Linked DNA regions of Homo sapiens: regions 1 and 2 are each linked to region 3. The links are contacts of gene promoters, found by promoter capture Hi-C in blood cells and fetal thymus (Javierre and others, 2016). All regions are on one chromosome and are shown on one strand. Each heading gives the region's core, a stretch centred on a gene start or on the middle of the fragment in contact. The rest is flanking DNA. Distances are from core to core; before and after follow the strand shown.

What was found. Contacts are between HindIII fragments. The CHiCAGO score rates a contact against its expected background, and 5 or more counts as called.
Region 1: a fragment that was not itself captured here is called in contact with the fragment with the promoter of EMC4 in region 3 in 1 of 17 cell types (neutrophils); the score reaches 5.9 in neutrophils.
Region 2: a fragment that was not itself captured here is called in contact with the fragment with the promoter of EMC4 in region 3 in 2 of 17 cell types (activated CD4 T cells and neutrophils); the score reaches 6.1 in activated CD4 T cells.

The regions. Positions count from the first base shown.
Region 1 is chr15:34,074,978-34,079,485 of GRCh38, reverse strand. It overlaps a transcript of AVEN not described here. Among named protein-coding and RNA genes, the nearest start is that of EMC7, 25 kb to the left of the region's middle. The HindIII fragment of the contact is 3,492 bases long and covers 342-3,833 here.
Region 2 is chr15:34,045,313-34,050,022 of GRCh38, reverse strand. CHRM5 (cholinergic receptor muscarinic 5) reads right to left here. Exons shown (of 3, transcript NM_012125.4): 2 at 3,152-3,483. It also overlaps a transcript of AVEN not described here. Among named protein-coding and RNA genes, the nearest start is that of AVEN, 8.5 kb to the right of the region's middle. The HindIII fragment of the contact is 4,552 bases long and covers 1-4,331 here.
Region 3 is chr15:34,223,463-34,227,641 of GRCh38, reverse strand. EMC4 (ER membrane protein complex subunit 4) reads right to left here and starts at 2,626. Exons shown (of 5, transcript NM_016454.4): 1 at 2,442-2,626; 2 at 1,992-2,106. The coding sequence starts at 2,527. RefSeq lists an enhancer at 2,263-2,312. The HindIII fragment of the contact is 12,421 bases long and covers 1-3,130 here.

The DNA.
Region 1 (4,508 bases), core at 838-3,337, 150 kb after region 3:
AGTCTTTTAATTCAGCTCAAAGAGTATGTTGAGATGGGACCAGTTGTACTGAGCTCTTCCGCATTTTAGGTGTGATTATTTTCATTATTTAGAGTCTTAAATTTATAAGGCTGGTGAGAATATCCATTTGGTTTAAATGTTTATGTTATTCAGGAGAACTTGAAAGTAGCTTCGGTAAAATTCAAATGGTGTCTATAAATTGTGGATATTGTTTTTATACTCTTGGTAAAAGATGAAGTATTGAAAATTTTAAAATGCCCCCAAAATAGCTCCAAATATTAGCTTATCTCTTTAGTTTATGGTAAAACGATCTTATTATGAGCACTAGGGGAACTGAAGCTTTCCACAGTGGCTTCTGTCTGGTAGGACTGAGCCAGCCAGGCAAGCAACCCTGAGAAGAGGAAGGAGTAAATTAAGGTCAAACATTAAACTGGAGGAATGAGTGGAACTGTAAAAACTAGCTATACGCAGCATTTCCAACAGAAAACTGTTGACAAGGCGTTTAATTCCACTGAAATTTAATAATCTATTGATTCATATTTGTACCTCTTAGATAATTTTGAAATCAAATTTTTCATATATATGAATGTAAATTTATTTCATTCCCTTTTAAAAATATTTAAAAATAATTTATAAAGATTGACTATATTCAGAGTATAAAATGTGATTATTTGATATACATTGTATTATGACTACCACAATCAAATTAATTAATACATCCACCATCACTCATGATGTAGTTAAGATCCCTGAAACTTGTTCATCTTATAATTGAGTTTGTACCCTTTGGCCAGTATCTTCCCATTTCTCCTACCCCTCAACCCACCATTTCATTCTCTGCTTCCATGAGTTTGGCTTTTTTAGATTCCACACATAAGTGAGATAAGGCATATAAGTTCTCGATGAGTTTATAATTATTAATATTCTTATTTTTCAGATGAGGAAACAGGTTAAACAATTTCCCAAACTCATCAGTGGGTAAGTGGTCTTAATCTAGAGAAAACTGTTAACTGCTTTCTGTAGTACTGCTCTCACATGCTAAACTGAAAAACATTAATATACCCATAGTCAACACATGGTATACATCTCTTCCAACCTGTCCACCCTCCTCCTACCTCTATTGGCATGATCTAGGGACTTGCCTCTCTCCTTCCAAACTCTCCTTAGAGAGAAAGCAGTGGTGTAGTCAAGAGAAATTGACTTCCAAGAGAAAGTAGTTGTAGTCCTAGTTTCTGGTAACTGGAGCTTTAGACACTAATCTTAAAGATGTTTCTAAAAGGCAAATCTGATGGGATCACTCATCAATTAAACCCTGTGTTGACTCTCATGGACTTCAAGACAAACATCTTTGGCCCCTGAACACAGTTCCTTCAGACTCACTTCTTGCCACTTCCCTATGTATCTCAAATTATTCACAATTCCCCTCTGAAAACTCCATGCTCTCTCACCTCTGAGCCTTTTTGAGTATCTCTTCATCTCAGCTCTCCACCCCATGCCTATTTTTTTCCCTTATCAACCTGTAACATCTTTTTTAGGACTTTCTACAGAAATCTTCCAGATGCTCATGAGGATCAGATAAGAGCCTCCTTGTCCCCCTTCATGCCTGGCTTATCCTATTATATATATAGCACTTCATTTTCTGAGATTACTTGTCTACTTCTCTGACTTCCCTACCTGGACCCTAAGCTCCTTGGACTGTAAAGCACTAGTAGTACAACAGTCCTGTCCTCAAGGAAGGGTAGGAAGAATATTAATCTCTCCTCTAAAATAGTTCTGGGATGGCTGCCATACATACAGCTCTATCATATTGTTGGGATCCTAACTCAAATCGTTAGACAAGGATAGAGATCAGAGACCCATGGTGAATTAAGTTTGTACTTTTCAGGGAATCATAAAGATACTAAGAATACAGGAAAAAACAAAAACCAGGAACCTTGCCTTGTAACCATCTCCTATCGCAGGTAAGCACATACTTACTTAGTACAGAATACATTGTGAAGTACTGTTGCCACGTATGTGCCAAGGGCTACTAGGTGAGGGGATATGATCATGAGCACAATAAGCATGAACTCTGGCTTCAGAGATGAGCATTTAGAGGGAGACACAGACATTGAATCAACCAAACACACACAGGTATCTAATGAAAACTTTGGTAGATGCTACCAAGAAAAAGTCATTTATAAGCTCATAAATGGGGAACCCGAATGGGTGGGTAGAGGGCAAATGTAAGAGCACTTCCATTAAAAAGTGACTCATAGGTAAGACTGAAAGACTAGGAATTAACCAGGCTGAGACTGAGAAGAGCGGGATAAGAATGAGGTGCTTCCTAGTCTGAGCTGAAGGAGGGGTGGGCCTGGAGCTTGGCTCTTGAAGGAACTGAAAGAACAGTACAGCTGGAGAGAAGAGAGGCGAAAAAGGTAGGCAGACATCGCCTGGTTGCATTGCAGGCCTGAACTCGCCTTATCTTCTGGAGGACAATACCCTGATTCTCTCTGGAAAAATGATAAGGGAAAGCCCTGTGTATGGTGTTCAGTGTGCTTGAGACAATGAGGTAGAACTGATCACAGATTGGGAGCCAGGCCAGCTTGGGTTTGAATCTTGTGAGTAACATGGTGGTGACTGTGGCTAATGACCATTAATAATAAGTAAAGTGGTGAAGTCATAAGGCTCCTTCCAATGACTTCTATCACTTCCAATCACTTCTAGTTGAAGCCTAGAAGTAATTATTCACTTTACTAAAGGATTCACTAGAAGCGTCCTTCACATAGTTCCCCCTAATGCACCTAAAATAGATGTGATTGCCACAGGCAAATCACACAATTCTGGAGGGACTCCCTCTTATGGAGACCTGAAGCTGGCTGTGACTGGCTGTGATCACCTGGCCATGATGTACTGATAACAGGTCTCTGAGCAAACTGTGGTATATGAAAATCATTGCCAAGAAAGCCTAGAATCTTTAGTAGAAATCTCAGAGTCCCAGAAACTTTGAGAGAATATGTTAGTTGGAGGAAAAATAAGCATTGTCTTCCCTCCTGCCTTGTTCTCTGCCTACCTCTGGCCCAACCTCAAATCTTTAAATGATGTAGCCCAGCAGAGGCCAGTGGCATAAAGACGGTTTCTCTCCCTTCATCCTCTTTGGAGCTGGTGGGAATTGGTTGGAAGGAAGGTTTCCGGTCTTTTTCAAAGCCTCTCAGAGGTCTCCTCATTCCTGGTAGGCCCTCAGCACTCCTACTGTGAACCAGCTGCTCCCACCTTGAGACTCTGTACTCACTGCTTTAAGTTGTGCTCTAATGTGTGTGATTGTATGCATTTGATTTTGAAAATTTGGAGAATTCTATGGAAAACTCTAATTTCTTTGTATTTCTACCTGATCTCTGCTCCTCCCTTGAGAAGAAGTTGGATTATGGAATAAGAAATTTAGGGTATATCTAGACAGGGCAAGTCTTCTTTCTGAAAAACACAGTACCTTGGCATGTAGTCCAGGAACTGGGAACCAAACTGAAAAAAAAAAAAAAAGATCAGAGGCCTGTGCTTGTGAGATCCTGTGAGTGGAATGTTGGATGTTATCCGCATTCATCTTGTCATTCCTCAGTCATCCTTCCTCTTCAAGCCTATATGTTTAGGCTTCAGTGCTAATTTTCCTTCTGTGCCAAAGAGCAGGGAATAAGAGGCCTGGAGAAGCAAAACGCTTGTTCTTGGGGAGGAGCATGTCCTTCAGCCACCACTGGGACAATTTTCTTTGTAGTTACTGTAGTTGTTCCATCCATCATTCTGTTAGTCTATGTTCCTAGAGGGCAGAGACAGTGTCTTATTCCCTTCCACATCCCCAAGCTTTCCAAATAGATCAATAACTATTTGCTGAACAAATAAGTAACCAAACAAAGGAGTAATTAGATTGCCTAGCTGGTGATTCTTGGATATAAAAAGATAGTGAATGATATGGTCTGGCTCTGTGTCCCCACCCAAATCTCATTTTGAATAGTAATCCAAATTGTAATCCCTATGTGTTGACGGAGGGACCTCGTGGGAGGTGATTTGATCATGGGGGCACTCCTCGCCATGCTGTTCTTGTGATAGTGAGTTCTCATGAAATCTGATAGTTTTATAAGGGGTTTTCCCCCTCTTCACTCTGCACTTCTCTCTCCTGCTGTCACGTGAAGAAGTACATGTTTACTTCCCCTTCCGCTGCGATTGTAAGTTTCCTGAGGCCTCCCAAGCCATGCGGAACTGTGAGTAAATTAAACTTCTTTCCTTTATAAATTACCCAGTTTCAGGTAGTTCTTTTTTTTTTTTTTTTTTTTTTTGAGCCAGAGTCTCGCTCTTTTGCCCAGGCTGGAGTGCAGTGGCGTGATCTTGGCTTGGTCCACTGCAACCTCCACCTCCCGGGTTCAACTGATTCTCCTGCCTCAGCCTCCTGAGTAACTGGGACTACAGGCGTGTGCCACCACGCCCAGCTACTTTTTGTATTTTTAGTAGAGACAAGGTTTCACCGTGTTAGCCAGGATGGT
Region 2 (4,710 bases), core at 806-3,305, 180 kb after region 3:
CCAGCTACTCGGGAGGCTGAGATGAGAGAATGGCTTGAATCCAGGAGGCAGAGGTTGCAGTGAGCTGAGATTGTGCCACTGCACTCCAGCCTAGGTGATGGAGTGAGATCCTGTCTCAAAAAAAAAAAAAAAAAGTTGATGTTGATTATTGGCCCCAGTCTCTTCTGGCTTGTAGGATTTCCACCAAGAGGCCTGCTGTTAGTCTCATGGGCTTCCTTTTGTAGGTGAACTGGCCCTTCTCTCTGGCTGCCCTTAATATTTTTTCTTTCATTTCAACGTTGGAGAATCTGATGATTGTGTGTCTTGGGGTTGATCTTCTTGTGGAGTATCTTACTGGGGTTCTCTGCATTTTTTCAATTTGAACGTTGGCCTGACTTGCTAGGTTGGGGAAATTCTCCTGACTGATATCCTGAAGTATGTTTTCCAACTCGGTTCCATTCTCCCTGTCTCTTTCAGGTACCCCAATCAGTCATGGGTTTTGCTTTACATAATCCCATGATCCTTTTCATTCTTTTTTTCTCCATTCTTGTATGCCTGTCTTATTTCAGAAAAATAGTCTTCAAACTCTGCGATTCTTTTTTCCACTGGTCTATTCTGCTCTTGATACTTGTGATTGCATTGTAAAGTTCTCATAGTGTGTTTTTCAGCACCATTAGGTCTGTTATGTTCCTCTCTAAACTGGCTACTCTGGCTGTCAGCTCCTGCATTGTTTTCTCATGATTCATAGCTCCCTTGCATTGGGTTACAACATGGTCCTTTAGCTCAGTGAAGTTTGTTATTACCCACTTTCAGAAGCCTAGTTCTGTCAATTCAGCCATCTCAGCTTCAGCCCAGTTCTGTGCCTTTGCTGGAGAGGTGTGCAGTCATTTGGAGGCAGAGACGCACTCTGTCTTTTTGAGTTTTCAGCATTTTTGTGTTGAATCTGTCTCATCTTTGTGGGCTTATCTACCTTTGAGCTTTGAGGTTGCTGACCTTGAAATAGGTTTTTGTGGGGTCTTTTCTGTTGATGTTGTTGTTTTCTGTTTGTTTGTTTTTCTTTTAACAGTCAGACAACTCTTCCACAGGGCTGCTGCAGTTTGCCGTGGGTCCACTCCAGACCCTAGTCACCTCGGTTGTTCTCATACCTGGTGGTATGCTGCAAAACATACCACCAGGTATGCAAAACAGCAAAGGTGGCAGACTGCTCCTTCCTTTGGAGGCTCCATCCCAGGAGGATACTGACCTGTTGCTGGCCCAGACACACCTAGGCCACAGACTCCTTTTGGGAGGTGTCAGTCAGGAGGAATGGGATCAGGGACCCACTTAAAGAAGCAGTCTGGCTGCTTTTTGGTAGAGCAGGTGTGCTGCATTGTGGGGGCACTGTTCCTTGTCCAGACTGTTTGGACTCTCCAAAGCCAGCAGGCTGGAATGGCTGAGTCAACCAAACTGTAGAGATGGCGGCTGCCCCTCCTCCTGGGAGCTCCATCCCAGGGAGAAATCAGAGCTCTGTCTGTATAACCCTGGCTAGAGTGGCTGAAACCCCCACATGGAGGTCCTGCCCAGTGAGGAGGAATGGATCCAGGTCCCACTTAAAGAAGCAGCCTGGCCATGATCTGGCAAAGCAGCTGTGCTCGTTGTGGGGGACCCTTCCTTGTCAGGACCATTTGGACTCTCCAAAGCCAGCAGGCTGGAACAGCTGAGTCAACCAAACCACACAGATGGCGGCTGCCCCTCCCTCTGGGAGCTCCATCCCAGGGAAAGATCAGAGCTCTATCCATATAACCCTGGCTGGAGTGGTTGAAGCTCCCACAGGGAGATCCCACCCAGTGAGGAGGAATGGATCCGGGTCCTGCTTAAAGAAGCAGTCTGGCCGGGTGTGGTGGCTTACGCCTGTAATCCCAGCACTTTGGAAAGCCGAGGCAAGTGGATTGCTTGAGTTCAGGAGTTTCAGACCAGCCTGGGCAACAGGGTGAAACTCCCATATCTACCAAACACACACACACACAAACACACACACACACGAGCTGGACGTGGTGATGTGTGCCTGTAGTCCCAGCTACTCCACTCACTTGGTCCTATTGTTTGACCCCATCCCTTCTCCCGTGCACCCTTTGATTTCTTATTTCTGGGATCTGGTGTGGAGAGCCCCTCATCCTGGGAAACAGGGTGCGGGAGGCTGAGGTGGGAGGATTACTTGAGCTCAGGAGGCAGAGGTTGCAGTAAGCCGAGATTGCGCCATTGCACTCCAGCCTGGGTGACAAAGTGAGACTATCTCCAAAAACAAAACAAAACAAAGACAAAACAAGCAGTCTGGCCACCAACTGACAAAGCAGCTGTGCTTGCGTTGGGAGGGACCTTTCCTTGTCTGGACTGTTTCGATTCTCCAAAGCCGCAAGCTAGAATGGCTGAGTCAACTGAACCACAGAGGTAACAGTCATCCTCCCGCTGGGAGCTCAATTCTCTCTCAGGCAGACTCTGGCTTTTACTGTTGGCTGGCTGGAATTCCAAGTCAGTGGGTCTTATCTTGTGAGGTGCCAGGGAAGTGGGGCCTGCAGAAAGATGCTGCTTGGCTCCCTGGTTTCAGCCCTCTTCCTAGGGGTATGTGCAGATGGACCTCCCGCCTTGCCAGGGATCCCAGCGTTGGAGTATGTAAAACTGCTAGGTCTCCGCCGGGCACGGTGGCTCACGCCTGTAATCCCAGCACTTTGGGAGGCTGACACGGGCGGATCATCAGGTCAGGAGATCCAGACCATTCTGGCTAACACGGTGAAACCCCGTCTCTACTAAAAATACAAAAAGTTAGCAGGGCATGGTGGCGGGCGCCTGTAGTCCCAGCTACTCGGGAGGCTGAGGCAGGAGAATGGCGTGAACCCGGGAGGCGGAGCTTGCAGTGAGCCGAGATCGTGTCACTGCACTCCAGCCTGGGCGACAGAACGAGACTCCGTCTCCAAAAAAAGAAAAAAAAAAAAACCAACAAAAAAACCAAAACAAAAAAGCCCTGCTAGGTCTCTGTTTGTGCCTGAGCGGCTGCTCTGCTGAAACTCCGCACAGCTCTGTGTGTTGGACCTAAGGCTCTGCTGGCATGGGCTCACAAGGAGATCTCCTTTTCCATGGGTTGCAAAGACCTGTGGGAGAAATGTGGTTTCCCCGGTGGGGTCGCACAATCACTCACCGCTTCCCTTGGCTGGAGGTGGGGGTTCCTTTGGCTCTGTGCTGCTCCCAGGTGGGCCGTCACCCCACCCTGCTTTTCTTTGTTTTCTGTGGGTCAAGTTGTTTGCCCAATTAGTCCCAAAGCGAGAACCTGGATATTTCAGTTGAAGGCGCTGTATTCACTCACACCTTTCATTCCTTTGCATGAGAGCTGCGGGCTGCCGCTGCTTCTAATCCGCCATCTTGGCCATATTTCACAATTGCACATTTCTGAAAAGCTCCTGAGTATTCTTGATGCTACTGATCCATGTACCATATTTTAAGTTGCAAGGCTGAGAATGATTTCCTAGGTTCCTAGAAAAGGGGAATGATCGTTCACAAAGGGGCTGTTAAATTGGAATTTTCCAACTGCAATGTGCAGTAACATTTGAATCCCCCTCTGCCTTCCAAAATCACTTGAGTTAAAAAAATTTTTTTCTCCTGTTCGAAATTAATATAATTAGCCTTTAGAGATTTTCTGCCTTCTCTTTTTCCCGTTTTTTTTTTTTTTCCTGCCTCACTTTTTGGGAGAATAACTTTTCCTGATTCCTAGGCTGCTGGACAGATCTTTCCACAAAAAGATTTGGAACATAAGGTAGGTTCCACGGCTGATGGATTGATTTATTTTTTTGGATGATAGTTGAGTATGAAAACTGAGTTTCCAGCCTGAATGTTTTCCACAATAAACTTCTTAAATCATTGATTATGTTTTTGAAAGGGTAACTTATTTTTGAGGAAAGTTGCAGAGGCAAATGAAATATAAGTGGTTATCTGGGAGTGTGGATCCTTTTGAGCTCTTCCCTGATTACTCAAACTTTAACAGTTCCCATTTTTCATCCCACCATCTAGAGTATGTTTATTTTTAGGATACCAGCATTAAGAGAGAGCAGTAATCATCTCAGGTTTATTTTCTACCACTACATAAGACAAAGACTCCCACAGTAATAAAAGCCTCTGGGTTTCCAACCTTGGCCGATTGTTTCTTGTTCTCTGCTGTCAATACATTACAAATGAAGCAAAGCAACATAAAAATCAAAGAAGGTAACCCTGTGTACCAAATGAATTCCTTTTCTTGTCGAGTGGACTTGCCAACTTTTGAGGCTTTTCCTAAGTGAGGTTAGGCCTTCGTTTTCTGAAACACCTTTTTTTTTTTATGAGAAGCTTTATGCCTGAACCTGTCCTTGTTACTCTTCATTGTTTCTATAGCAACTACAGTGGAAAACTTTAATGGCATCTACAACCCAGTGATATTGGGACATCATGATAACCAGCTCATATTGTTATGTAGAATATTGATGAGTGACTCCCTCCTTCCTTTTCAAGGACAAATCAAGACAAAGTAGGCTTAAAGCACATGGGGTACCACTGTGTTAGATATGAGGAAGGACTTGCAGTGAAAGAGCGTGTGAATGAATAAGGGAGGTTCTGGACTTGCATTTTTTTGGTGAATATTTTAAAGTAAGATATATCTAACTCCTTTTGACTGGTAGAATCAAATTGCTGACTGAAGATAAGGTGGTGATTAAGAAATGACCTCTTAAT
Region 3 (4,179 bases), core at 1,377-3,876:
ATTTGCCATATCACTGATGCTAAATCACATGAACGGAATTCCCAACTCCCTGCTTCTAACTGAGCTGACTCCTCAATTCTACGACCTCTTCCCTTCTCCACGTTGCCACAGGAAGGCTCTCCTACTCAAGATAAAGTATCCTTACCATCTGTTATGCCTTTCCCTATAGGTTTTCCAGATGTCATTTTTTTCTCCTGATTTTGGAAAAAAGATCTCCCTGCTTTTGTCCTGGTACTTATGTATCTATCAATGTCCTATCTACAACTGAAGAAATAGATAAATCCACATAATGGGAGATTAGCACACCTCAGTCAATAACTAATAGAACCATCGAACTAATTTAGTTCCAGAAATAATAGAATTAGCAGGCAAATCAAGACATAGAAGATTTGAATGACATTAACAAACTTAACCCAACTGACATGTAACACTGCACTCAACAATTGCAGAATTCACATTCTTTTCAAACAAGATATTCACAAAAACTGACCACTCGCTGAGCCATGAAGAAAATGTCAATCTCAAAGAATGCAAATTGTACAAAACATATTCTTTGACTACAATGATATTAAACTAGAAATAATTTTATAGTAACTAGAAAATCTCTTATGTTTGGGAATTAACAATGATACATGAAGAAATTATAATGGAAAATAGATTTATATGATAGCAAAAGTACCACATTTTAAAACTCGTGGGACACAGCTAGAGTTCTGAGAAATTTATAACCTTAAATACATACTACCAGGTTGCTGCAAAAGTAACTGCGGTTGTTGCCATTAAAAGTAATGGCAATGTGGCCGGGCGCGGTGCCTCACACCTGTAATCCCAGCACTTTGGGAGGCCGAGCTTGGTGGATCACCTGAGGTCAGGAGTTTCAGACCAGCCTGGCCAACGTGGTGAAACCCCGTCTCTACTAAAAATACAAAAAAATTAGCTGGACGTGGTGGTGGGTGCCTATAATCCCAGCTACTCGGGAGGCTGAGGCAGGAGAATTGCTTGACCCTGGGAGGCAGAGGTTGCAGTGAGCCAAGGTCGTGCTATTGCATTCCAGCCTCGGCGACAACAGCAAGACTGTCTCAAAAGAAAAGAAAAAAAGTAATGGCAGTCTAAAAATAAACTAAGCATCCATTTCAAGAAACTAGAAAAAAACCCAAGTATTTTTGAAAAGATTAATAAAATCAATACTGGTGATGGGTACAGTGACCTGTAAAAATAAATGAAAATAATTTTTAAAAAATCAATACTGGTGAGCCTGATGAAGAAAGGAGAGGAGACAAAATATTCAATATCAGGAATGAAAAAATGAACATCACAGATCTTGCATATATGGAAGTGATCATATTATGAACAACTTTATATCAATACATTTGAAATTTTAGGAAATGGATAAGTTTCTAGAAAAAATGTAACAAAATGACAGGAGAAATTAGAAATATAAATAGCCCCGGGCCGAGCGCGGTGGCTCATGCCTGCAATCCCAGCACTTTGGAAGGCCAAGGCGGATGGATCACCTGAGGTCAGGAGTTCAAGACCAGCCTGGCAAACATGGTGATACCCTGTCTGTACTAAAAATACAAAAATTAGCCGGGCTACTGCAGAAATCTAGATGAAGGATGGTGGCTTGGATTAGGATGAGAGGTGAACACAGGAAAAAGTAGTAGGTAAAGCCAACAGAGTATCCTGACAGTTGGATATGTGGTGTAAGGGAACCAGAGTAGAAAAAGGATCACTTCAACTGGAAGATGTTGCCACCAAAAGATAGTTTTCAACCTACTTTCTTATACCTTATGTTCCAAACATCTTCTATTTTTCAAATTATTAAGCACTTTTGTAGCTGATATATAAAATACCGAAATACCAGCCTCAAGCAGTTTAGTTTCCAAATCTTCAGGATAAGAGCTATCTACGTTAACTCCACCTAGGAGAAGAGGATGAGTGTGTAACTCAGGACTGGCCCATGGGCTACGGTAACATCTATACCTCTGTACCTTCTCCACCAGGATCCGGTCTGTCTCTTGCACGCTGGTATCAGGCACTTGCTTGTCCAAGTAACCGACTGGGTAGAGCGAGTCTCCCTGGCCACTGCCCCGGTCACTTCGACCCCTAAAAAACCAAACCAAGAAACTAAAGCTGCAACCTCCGATACTTCTTATCCCACATTTCCTGATCTACCAATCATAGGAATAAAGATCTTCAGATGCACCTACTCAGATTAGACCAAGCCCCCTCGTATGTTCCTCAGTCCTTTGACTTATCAGGAGGACTGATGTAAGCATTGTTTGAGCAGAGAAACTTCCACGGCAGAAAAGCCGCTACCTCCCCAGGTGATGTCTGTGTGCCACCCATCTTTTTCAGAGTTATGCCTGAGGGCTCAGGTCTCATTACTCTGGTGCAGTTCTGGGATGAACAGTGATGTACAGCTTGCCCAGGTGCCTCACCTGCTGCCTCCTCCAGGCCCGCTTAGCTCAATGGCCCACTTGAAGCGCCGGCCTCGGTTAGCCACCAGGCCCCCCTGGGCCGTCATGGCAACAGCTGCGTCCTATAGCCTCGATGCTTCTCAGTCCAAAGCGTACTCCACAACAGGCCCACCAGCGTTCTCCGCTTTGTCTCACTCTGCAAATGCACTTCCGGCGCGTGAATACGACGTCATTTCCGCCCTGGAAATTGGTGGTGCTGTGGGTTGAGGAGTCCGGGTTTGGATTTAGAAAAGCAGGGAGGAAAAAAAACCAGGCAAGACTTAGTGCTTCCTAAAGCCACTTCCGCGCGCTCCCCTTTTGAATGTCCTTGTTATGTGTTCCCTGACCTCTGAGGTGCACTTTATGGGGCTGAAGGAAAGCCCATACTGACTCAGCGTTAAGAATTGGTGGGCGGATCACCTGAAGTCAGGAGTTCGAGACCAGCCTGGCTAACATGGTGAAACCCCGTCTCTACTAAAAATACAAAATATTAGCCGGGCTTAGTGGCGGGCGCCTGTAATCCCAGCTACTTAGGAGGCTGAGGCAGGAGAATCGCTTGGATCCGGGAGCCGGAGGTTGCAGTGAACTGAGACCGAGCGATTGCACGCCAGCCTGGGCAGCAAGAGCGAAACTCTGTCTCAAAAAAAAAAAAAAGGAAGCCAAGAAAAGCTTCTTAACCTCCTACGCGCTCCCTGGAACAAAAGATTCAAATCCTGGGTTTAAATCCTAGCTTGACCTTGAGCGAGTTACTTAGTAGTTTCTGAGTATTGAATGTCCACTGTGTCATGTGTTTATTTCATTTCACTTGCACAGTAACCTTGCGAGGTAAACAGTTCTAACCACATTCTGCACAAAGGCAAGGCAGCATTGTGGGCATGGAAGGGGACATGGGCTCGGTATTCAGTTAGCCTGCGTTTGTTGTTGTTTGTTTTGGGTTTGTTTTTTGAGACAGGGTTTCACTCCGTTGCCGAGGCTGTAGTGCAGTGGCGCTATCACGGCTCACTGCAGCCTCGACTTCCCCGGCTCAAGCGATCTTCCCACCTGAGCGTTCCTTCCAACCTGAGCGTTCCGAGGAGCTAGGACCACAGGGCGCGCCACCACGCCCCAGTCTTGTTTTGTTTTGTTTTGTTTTGTTTTGACAGGGTTTCGCTATGTTGCTCAGGCTGCTCTCAAACTCTTGGGTTCAAGTGATTCTCCTGCCTTGGCCTCCCAAAATGTTGAGATTACAAAGGCATGGGCCACTGCACCCAGCAGATGGCCTCCTTTTGAATCCTGGTTTCACCACTTAATAATTGTATGACCTTGGGCAAGTTGAATTTGTTTCAGCCTCTTCATGTAAAAGTTGGATAATCTACCTACTTTCAAGGCTTGTGAGATTAGTGCCCACCACATATCTGGTGTTTGGTTTGTTTGTGTTTTTGTTCGAGACGGAGTTTTGCTTTTGTTGCCCAGGCTGGAGTGCAATGGCACTATCTCGGCTCACTGCAACCTCCGTCTCCCGGGTTCAAGCAATTCTCCTGCCTCAGCCTCCCGAGTACCAGGGATTACAGGCGCACGCCACCACGTCCAGCTAATTTTGTATTTTTAGTAGAGATGGGATTTCACCGTGTTGGTCAGGCTGGTTTCGAACTCCCGACCTCAGGTGATCTGCCTGCCTCGGCCTCCCAAAGTGCTAGGTTATGTGGTGTTTTTAATGATGTATCACATCATTACCAAATAA